3 separate regions of the Homo sapiens genome follow, and all the other regions are linked to region 2. The links are contacts of gene promoters, found by promoter capture Hi-C in human tissues and cell types (Jung and others, 2019). All regions are on one chromosome and are shown on one strand. Each heading gives the region's core, a stretch centred on a gene start or on the middle of the fragment in contact. The rest is flanking DNA. Distances are from core to core; before and after follow the strand shown. Region 1 holds the start of ZNF771 (zinc finger protein 771). Region 2 holds the start of TUFM (Tu translation elongation factor, mitochondrial). Region 3 overlaps SEZ6L2 (seizure related 6 homolog like 2).

Evidence for each region. The method cuts DNA at HindIII sites, captures the fragments that hold promoters and counts their contacts. A contact is called where the count stands out against the background at its distance.
Region 1: the fragment with the promoter of ZNF771 here is called in contact with the fragment with the promoter of TUFM in region 2 in 1 of the 25 tissues and cell types used here (aorta).
Region 3: a fragment that was not itself captured here is called in contact with the fragment with the promoter of TUFM in region 2 in 1 of the 25 tissues and cell types used here (lymphoblastoid cells).

Annotation. Positions count from the first base shown.
Region 1 is chr16:30,405,895-30,408,882 of GRCh38, forward strand. It overlaps ZNF771 (zinc finger protein 771), which reads left to right and starts at 1,712. Exons shown (of 3, transcript NM_001142305.2): 1 at 1,712-1,770; 2 at 2,151-2,300. The coding sequence starts at 2,160. RefSeq lists silencers at 1,436-1,615, 1,638-1,847. The HindIII fragment of the contact is 10,608 bases long and covers 246-2,988 here.
Region 2 is chr16:28,845,079-28,848,461 of GRCh38, forward strand. It overlaps TUFM (Tu translation elongation factor, mitochondrial), which reads right to left and starts at 1,270. Exons shown (of 10, transcript NM_003321.5): 1 at 1,140-1,270; 2 at 834-1,028; 3 at 236-402. The coding sequence starts at 1,191. It also overlaps a transcript of SH2B1 not described here. RefSeq lists an enhancer at 1,132-1,621. The HindIII fragment of the contact is 27,203 bases long and covers 1-3,383 here.
Region 3 is chr16:29,876,581-29,879,511 of GRCh38, forward strand. SEZ6L2 (seizure related 6 homolog like 2) reads right to left here. Exons shown (of 18, transcript NM_001243332.2): 10 at 1,707-1,845; 11 at 691-887; 12 at 176-370. Among named protein-coding and RNA genes, the nearest start is that of CDIPT, 15 kb to the left of the region's middle. RefSeq lists enhancers at 1,106-1,607, 1,608-2,107. The HindIII fragment of the contact is 6,800 bases long and covers 1-2,931 here.

The sequences.
Region 1 (2,988 bases), core at 462-2,961, 1.6 Mb after region 2:
GCTGTGTGACTTTGAGCAAATTACTTAACTTGTCTAAGCTTCCGTTTCTTCTTTTGTCCAATGGAGATATTATTGATCCCAACAGGGCTGTTGTAAAGAGACAACATAGAACTTGTAAGCACTTACTGAATGTTATTTCTGTTTTCCTTCATGATTTCTGAATCTTAGTTGCCCCATTCATAAAATGGGAAAATTAGATATCTGCTTTTTCAAGGGAAGTGGCTGTTTTTCAAAGGAAGTGGCATTTGTTTATTCCACTAAAAAAAAATCTATTTTTATATGAAATATCCCAATTTAATTTTTTTTTTCTTGAGACGGAGTTTCGCTCTTGTTGCCTAGGCTGGAGACCAATGGCATGATCTCGGCTCACTGCAACCACTGCCTCCCCAGTTCAAGCAATTCTCGTGCCTCAGCCTCTCGAGTAGCTGGGATTACAGGCATGCACCACCAAGCTTGGCTAATTTTTGTATTTTTAGTAGAGACGGGGTTTCACCATGTTGGTTAGGCTGGTCTCGAAATCCTGACCTCAAGTGATCCACCGGCCTCCGCCTCCCAAAGTGCTGGGATTACAGGCATGAGCCACCGCGCCCGGCTTTGAAACGATTTTTTTTTTTTTTTTTTTTTTTTTTTTTTGAGACGGAGTCTCGCTCTGTCGCCCAGGCTGGAGCGCAGTGGCGCGATCTCGGCTAACTGCAAGCTCGCCTCCCGGGTTCACGCCATTCTCCTGTCTCAGCCTCCCGAGTAGCTGGCACTACAGGTGCCCGCCACCACGCCCAGCTAATTTTTTGTATTTTGTTTAGTAGAGTCGGGGTTTCACCGTGTTAGCCAGGATGGTCTCTATCTCCTGACCTCGTGATCCGCCCGCCTCGGCCTCCTAAAGTGCTGGGATTACAGGCGTGAGCCGCCGTGCCCGTCCGAAAAGATTTTTTAAAAGTAAAAATACCCTAAGGGCCAAACAAGGTACCCCTGTGGACTGGATTTAGCTTTGGGCTGTTGTTCACCTAGGCTACTGATTGTCAGGGATGCTATGACATCCTTATCGTGTAACTTAGGCAAATCAGTTTACCTCCCTGAACTTCAGTGAGCTCATCTGTAAAATGGATCAGGACCCATCGTTATGCGGATCAAATGAGACCAGGTATGTAAGACGCTGAACAGCGCTGGCGCATGGTAAGCACCCCACGCATGACGCGACAGCGGTAGCTTGGGTGGATGTTGAATTGGTTAGGATGTATTCAAGGATATCCCAGAGGCCAGCGGAATAGGCGAAGCCGAGAAAGATGGAGAAAAGACGGCAGAGGAGATAAAGAGGGAATGGAAGAAGTGAGGAGGCAACAGGGTCCGCCCTCCAGGCGGGGCGCCAGGGAGAGGCCCAGGCCGGGGCGGGAGCGCACGTGGCCTATTTCGGGCGGAGCAGAGGCACTGGGCGCAGCGGAGACCTCCAAGCCGGCCCCAGGAGACGGGCCGCGAGGTTAGGTTGGAACTCGGCGGCAAGGACCTTGAACGCCGGGCTGGGGCGGCTCCAGGTGCTTGGGAGTCGGGGGACTGCGGAGGACGCCAAGTCTGAGCTCGCCGCCCTCTCCGAGCCGTTTGGGCCGGACGCCTGGGTCCTTCGGGCTCCGCCCCAGGGGGTGGGGCTATATGTTCGGACCAATGACCGGCCGTCCCTGCGGTCCCGCCCCCTCCCCGCCCCCGGAGCCGCGGCCTCGCTGAGTGCCCAGCCGCCCGGCGCCCAGGCCTGGGGCACCGCGAGTGCCGAACCTTCGGCTGGTGAGTGCGCACCCCCTCCCCGGGGTTTCCGCCCCGATCCCGCCTCCAGCCCGTGCCCCAGAGCTCCAGGTCGCCGACCCGGGCCCTGGGGAGTGACTCAGCGCAAGGATGGTGGCGACTTGCGGGGGCTGGAGATTCGAACTGTTCAAGGCCTTGAATGCTGGGATGAGTGGGGTGAACGCGAGCCCTCGGAGCTGGTCCCGGGGCTGTGCCAGAGCGTGGGGCCGGGCTGGGGTGGACGGGAGAGGACCAGATTCGGAGACCAGGGCAGGGCGGGAGAAGCCACGGCTGCACTGCCTTGCTGGGCCAGGGCCACGGTGGGCGGGGGGGGGGGTGGGGGGGGGCGGGTCCTGAGCTTCTGATCCAGCTCCCCGCCTCAGGACACCAAGATGCCTGGCGAACAGCAGGCAGAGGAAGAGGAGGAGGAAGAGATGCAGGAGGAGATGGTGCTGCTGGTGAAGGGTGAGGAGGATGAGGGTGAGGAGAAGTATGAGGTGGTGAAACTCAAGATCCCCATGGACAACAAGGAGGTATGTGTCACACACACCCTGGGGCACACTGTCCCCAAACCTGGTCCAGGCCCAGCCTCCCTCAGATAGAAGCCAGGGATCTTGCCCCTACTTTTCCCAGAATCTCGGATCTAAAACCTCAGGATTGGCCCATCCTTCTGCCCTACTGCCTGGGCTTCCATCATACAAAAGTCACGCCTACTGTCCCAGGCTTCCTGCTGGGTGCAGGAGATTAAACTCCGTCCTTGGATCCCCCATGGAGCTTGATGTTAGACTGAAGGGTAACCACACAGTTAGAATCCCGTGTGATGGCTGCAGGTACAGGGGGATGATGAAGCCTAGAAGTGGGAACTTAACTCAGATTTAGAGGTTGGGGAAAGGTCAGGTTAGTTCAACAGCAACAGTAACAATAGCTAACCCTTGCCTAGCATTTTCTATGTGCCAGGCACTGTTCTAAGCACCTCGATTCTATGATGTCGGTAGCATTTATTCCATTTTACAGATGAGGAGACTGAGGCCCAGGGCAGTTTGGTAACTGGCCACAGGTCTCAAAGTAAAAGGATGGCTTATGTGAGACTAGTAGGAGTCTGGGGTCAGAAGTGGGGTGATGGACCCAGTCAGAGGAAATGGCTCTTTTATTATTACTGTTGTTATTGTTTGAGACAGGGTCTCATTCAGTCACCCAAGCTGTAGTGCAGTACAGCTCACT
Region 2 (3,383 bases), core at 20-2,519:
CAGCCAAGTTCAACGAGCTCTTCAGTTCACATCCATATAGCCAAGTGTAGCAGTTAGAAACTCAGGCCCACCTTTCTCTACCATCTCCTCACCACCCATTCTGCGTGGCCAAGACCACAAACCTGCCATCTCATACCCAAACACTGAATATCTTAATCTCCTCCCCACAAGCCTAACATTTATCCTGACAAGAGGCAGCTTCTGGCCCTGTCTCCAGTGTCCCAGCAACCCTCACCTTAACATAATCTGCATGACCCGGGCAGTCTGTGTGGGCGTAGTGGCGGGCGGCAGTGCTATACTCCACATGAGCCGCATTGATGGTGATACCCCGAGCTCGCTCCTCCGGGGCATTGTCAATCTCCTCGTACTTCTTGAACTTAGCCCCACCTCCCTCAGCTAGAACTAAAGGAGGAAAAGAACACACCTCTCAGCTAAAGTTCCAGTGCTAGAGGCAGAGCTTAGACCACGCCCCTGAACCCTCCCACCTAAATACATAACCTCCTCCAATCTCTAACTCTTCCAGCAGAGAGAACTGTGGGTCAGAAAGAAATGTTAGAGGGCCTTAAGGGTCTGCCCTGTGACTTCTTTAGGGTACAGCCTCTGCTTGCAGAGCATTCCCCACGACTTTGTGATCCCCAAGCCATTGGTGGATCACAAAGTTCTTCCTGTTCAGGAGAAATTTGTCTCTTGCATCTCCCAATCCACCTGTCGCACAAATTCGGGCTCTTGGGGCCACAGTAAACTCCTCCAGCAGACACTCTGCTGGCCTTGCCTCCCTGGCTCCAGGTCCCATCAGTAGATAGGGCGCTGCTGGACGCCCCAACCCCACTCACTCTTCGTGATGGCTGCAGTCAGCGTGGTCTTCCCGTGGTCCACATGGCCGATGGTACCCACATTCACATGTGGCTTGTCGCGCACGTAAGTCTTCTTGGCCTCCACGGCCAGGCCGCGGCACAAGAGAGGCAATGCCGGGGCTTTCAGCAGCCGCAACAGACCCTGCAGCAGGAAGGTCCGGCCGGCGGCGAGACCTGCCGGGACCGAAGCTTGGAGTCAGGCAGGGAAGGGGTCAGACCGAACCCAGCCACCTACCACTCCCCCAAAGTGTTCCTGGGCCGCCATCGCCCTCCCTGACCACTCACCGCTGAAGTGGGGCGTCGCGCGCAGCAGGGTGGCGGCCGCCATTGTGGTCATACTCGCGCCCCGGTAACCGGGGAGCCGGGACCAGGAGCCCGAGCGCACAGAAGAAGAAGGGCGCCTGCGGCTGGAAGGCACTTCCGGCGGAAGTTAGAGCTGGGAGGGCAAGTCCGGGCCCCTCTAGCCGCCAGTGTCTATGGCCGTCTCAGCCGACGTCGGGCGCGCGGCTGAAGACGTCATGGAGGGGGCTGGTGTCTCGAGGGCGGAGTATGATGGAGAGGTTTTCCACCACTCGCGCCTCTCGGGCTGAGGGGCAACGTAGTTCTCTCTGGCGGTCGCAGGGGGCACTGAGGAGCGTCCCCTAAATCACCGGCGCCGCGAAGGCTCATGGGCGTAGTAGTTCTCAGGTCGGCGGGCTGTGGAGGTGATCAGAGTGGGAGTCAGGCGGGCTAGGCCGGACCCGGAGGGAGGGGCTCGGGCTCCGGGAGGCAGCTGCGGCTCCGACTGCTCAGGAACCTCCTCCTGGGCCCGGCAGAGAGAGACCCCGAGTCCCCCGGAGTCCGACTCGCTACGCGGGTCTTGCGAGATATCTGGCCGCCTCTGCCGCAGCTGGAGGTAGGGGACCAGGTCCTGGACGCCTTTCGGGGATGGGGTGAAGTGTGACCTCCCTCTTCGCTGAGACTTTGTTTTCTAATCTGTAAAATGGGAATAGTAGTATCCACTTCATAGGGAGAGCCTGACATCTAGCCCTGAGAGGAGATGAACTGGGTAGGAGTCAGTGTTGGGCCCTGTGAGGTCAGGCAGCTTGCGGGGACCCTGTACTGCTAGACCTCACAGGGCCAGAGCCCACAAGACAGACAGCTTCGCTGCCCACCCCTGTAGTCCCTCAGCAGCCTAAGGAGCAGTTCCGTTGGGCATCGCCCCACCCATCTAATTTTGCAGATGAGGAGCCAAGGATGAGGAGCCAGCTAGGGGAGCCTTTAAGGGGAGCCTGAGTCTCCTTTAATCTGTCGGTGTCCCCAGCACCTAACAGGGTGGAGCATGCAGTGAATGTTGAATGAATGGGTGCAAGGGTAGTCAATGTCCCTTAACTTTCACATCCATCATCTCATGGCAGCTTCCACAGGGCACTCCAAAGTGTTAATTATGGCTGCTTAACCCTGGCTAATGTTTCGGAACTCATCAGATCCTGAGACTCAGTGGACAGTGTTTGTTTCAAATAGATTCCCTAATTCCTCCCCTGGAGGTTATGATTCCGTGGGGTCTATGCACAGACTGGGAAGCTATATAACAAACACTCTTCTAAAACTGAGAAGAGGCTGGGCACGGTGGCTATAGTGCCAGCCTATAGTCCCAGCAGTTTGGGAGGCTGAGGTGGGAGGACGGTTTGAAGCCAGGAGTTCAAGACCAGCCTGGGCAGATTAGGAGACCCTATCTCTACAAAAAAAAATTTAAAATTAGCCAGGCACAGTAGCATGCAGCTATAGCCCCTCCTACTCAGGAGGCCGAGGCAGGAGGATCGCCTGAGCTCAGGAGTTCAAGGCTGTGGTGAGGTATGATCATGACACTGCACCCCACCGTGAGTGACAGAGAAAGACCCCATCTTTTTTTTTTTTTTTTTTTTTTTTTTGGAGACAGAGTCTCACTCTGTCGCCCAGGCTGGAGTGCAATGGGGCGATCTCGGCTCACTGCAACCTCCACCTCCTGGGTTGAAGCAATTCTCCCACCTCAGCCTCCTGAGTAGCTGGGACTACAGGCATGTGCCACCACGCCTGGCTAATTTTAGTATTTTTAGTACAGATGGGGTTTCACCTCGTTGGCCAGACGGCTCTCGAACTCCAGACCTCAAGTGATCCGCCCATTGTGGCCTCCCAAAGTGCTGGGACTACAGGCGTGAGCTACCACGCTCAGCCAAGAAAGACCCCATCTCTATAAAAATATTTTGGCCAGGCGTGGTGGCTCACACCTGTAATCCTAGCACTTTGGGAGGCCGGGCGGGTGGATTGCTTGAGTTCAGGAGTTCGAGAACAGCCTGGGCAACACGGTGAAACTCTGTCTCTACTAAAATACAAAAAATTAGCTGGGCGTGGCAGTGTGCACCTGTAGTACCAGCTACTCAGGAGGCTGAGGCAGGATAATTGTTTGCACCCGGGAGGCGGAGCTTGCAGTGAGCTGAGATGGTGCCACTGCACTCCACCCTGGGCGACACAGCGAGACTCCGTCTCCAAAAAAAAAAATTTTTTTTCAAA
Region 3 (2,931 bases), core at 314-2,813, 1.0 Mb after region 2:
CCGGGCGGAGGAGTGAGAACTAAAGGGCATGGGGGCAGGCCTTGAAGAAGATCCAGGAAGGACCCCGAGCGAAGGGATGGAACCCAGAAAGCACGGGGGTCGGGACAGGACAGGCCGACGACGGGGCCCACAGGGAAGGGGCGGGGCCGAGGGGACGCGGGCGGGGCCGGCTCACTCTTTTGGCAGGCGGGCGGCGCGGCGCTCCAAGACAGGTCCCACTGGCAAGTGAGAATGTCGGAGCCTAGCAGCTCGTAGCCAGGCTCGCACTGGTAGGTGAGCACCGTGCCCCGGATCAGGTCCCCGTGGGATGCCGTTCTCCAGCCCCACTCCGGAGGTGGCAGCTCGGGGCACGTGTCGTTCCTCGGGACCTCTGCAGGGGAGGGAAGGCGAGTTTGGAGGCTGCGTTTTAACTGCGGGCTCCCTTCCAGCCTCGGAGGCTTTGCTCTGTGCCCCCTCCCGGGATCTGTCTCTCTCTCTCTCTCTTAGAGACAGGGTTTCCTGTCGCCCAGGCTGGAGTACAGTGGTACAAGCATAGCTCACTGCAGCCTCAACCTCCTGGCTTCAAACGATCCTCCCGCCTCGGCCTCCCAAGGCCCCGGGATAACAGGCGTGAGCCACCACGACCGGCCACCTCCCGGGATCTCTGGCCTGCCCGACCCCTGCCCATCCCGGGACTCTATCCCTCAGTACCTTTGAAGTGCAATACGAAGCCCTGGCCCAGGCCTGGATTTGGGGGCCCGGGCGGTGCCTGAAACTGCAGTGTGAGGTCGGGCCCAGAGGAGAGAAGGCGGCGGCGCGGCTGAGGTCCCCGCAGCTGGGCCAAGACTCGGGCGCTGGGACCGTCCCCGTCGAACAGCGTCAGCATGTCCCCTTCCCGCACATTCAATCTGCAGGGGGTGAGACCAGGCAATGGGGCGGGGCTGCGACTGGCCCCTCCCATCCAGCTCTGCCCCATCCTCAACTCTGCTCATTGGTAGCCCCTCCTACTCTCCAGCCCCGCCCATATTCTCCTATCCCAGGTCTGGCGCCGCCTCCGTTTTGACCAACCATGGTTTCTCCTATGCTAGTGCCTCAGGGTTCCCCTATTCTATGGCTCCTCCCATGTCCTACTACCCAATCCCTAAGCTTGCACATTACTAACTCCGCCCACTGTCCACTCCCTCCTCCATCACCATGAGATCCACAGCCTAGCCCAACTCCAGCTCTGGCCAATCACAGACCAAATTCGCTAACGCCCTACACAACTCTAGGCCCCGCCTGAGTACCTGCTTTGAAGCCACGCCCACTTCAGCTTCTGTGCCATCTCATGACACTCTCATACCAATTCAGCTCACTGGATTCTCCCCAGACCTCCCCAACTTGCTGGTGTTAACGCAACAGTTTGGGTCTGTGTCCGTGGAAATAGCTCCAGGGGAAGCCTCAGAAACCTCCAAAGAGTGAGAGGCACCAGGCCAGAGCCCCTTGTTCACAGTGGCCCCTAAGGAAGGCTGCATTGCCCTATTTATTTGTCCGAGGTTGCCTGGCTAATATGTGATTTGAGCCCAGCTCTCTCACGTCTATCCTGTACCCTTAGTGCACCAGCCTATCCACCGAATTCTGGATAGATACGCAAGAGCCAGACAGGCTCAGAATGCAGGCTACTGCATTGGCATACCACACTTTGCTGAGCCTACACCCGTCGCACCCTCTGCAGGACCCAAACATACATCTCAACTTGGAGCAAGATGCGCTTCTCTTCCTGGACGTGCACGCCCCACACGCAGTCTTGGCCCGGGCTATAGCTCTGGGGCCAGTCGGGAGAGAGGACCACGCCAGCTGGTTCCGACAGCTCCCCTCCACACATGGCTAGGGAAAAAGGGGTGTCAGGTTCAGGACCCAGGTGGGCATGCTGTCTTCATTTCTCCACAGTCCTCACCACTCGTGATGCGTGCACCACATCACCTCGCTTGTTTCCTATTACCTATGATCCACCTGTTTCTTTTATTCTTTTATTTTATTTATTTATTTATTTTTAAATTTTTTTTGAGACGGAGTCTCTCTGTCGCCCAGGCTGGAGTGCAGTGGTGCGATCTTGGTTCACTGCAAGCTCTGCCTCCCTGGTTCACGCCATTCTCCTGCCTCAGCCTCCCGAGTAGCTGGGACTACAGGCGCCGCCACCACACCCTATTTTTTTTTCTTTTTTCTTTTTTTTTTTTTTTGTATTTTTAGTAGAGACGGGGTTTTACGGTGTTAGCCAGAATGGTCTCGATCTCCTGACCTCGTGATCTGCCCGCCTTGGCCTCCCAAAGTGCTGGGATTACAGGCGTGAGCCACCAGGTCCAGCCCCTATTTTTATTTTTTTAGACAGAGTCTCACTCTGTCGCCCAGGCTGGAGTGCAGTGGCGCAATCCCGGCTCACTGCAATCTCCACCTCGCAGACTCAAGCGATTCTCGTGCCTCAGCCTCCCAAGTAGCTGGGATTACAGGCACGCACTACCATGCCCGGCTAATTTTTGTATTTTTAGTAGAGACGGGGTTTCACTCTATTGACCAGGCTGGTCTCCAACTCCTGACCTCAGGTGATCCGCCTGCCTGAGCCTCCCAGAGTGTTGGGATTACAGGCGTGAGACACTGCTCCCGGCTTTATCCACCTGTTTCTTTTTTCTTTCTTTCTTTCTTTTTTGAGACGGAGTTTCACACTTCTTGCCCAGGCTGGAGTGCAGTGCTGCGATCTCGGCTCACCGCAACCTCCGCCTCCCGGGTTCAAGCGATTCTCCTGCCTCAGCCTCCTGAGTAGCTGGGATTACAGGCATGCATCACCATGCCCAGCTAATTTTGTATTTTAAGTAGAGACAGGGTTTCTCCATGTTGATCAGGCTGGTCTCGAACTCCCGACCTCAGGTGATCCGCCCGCCTCAGCCTCCCATAGTGCTGGTATTACAGGCGTGAGCC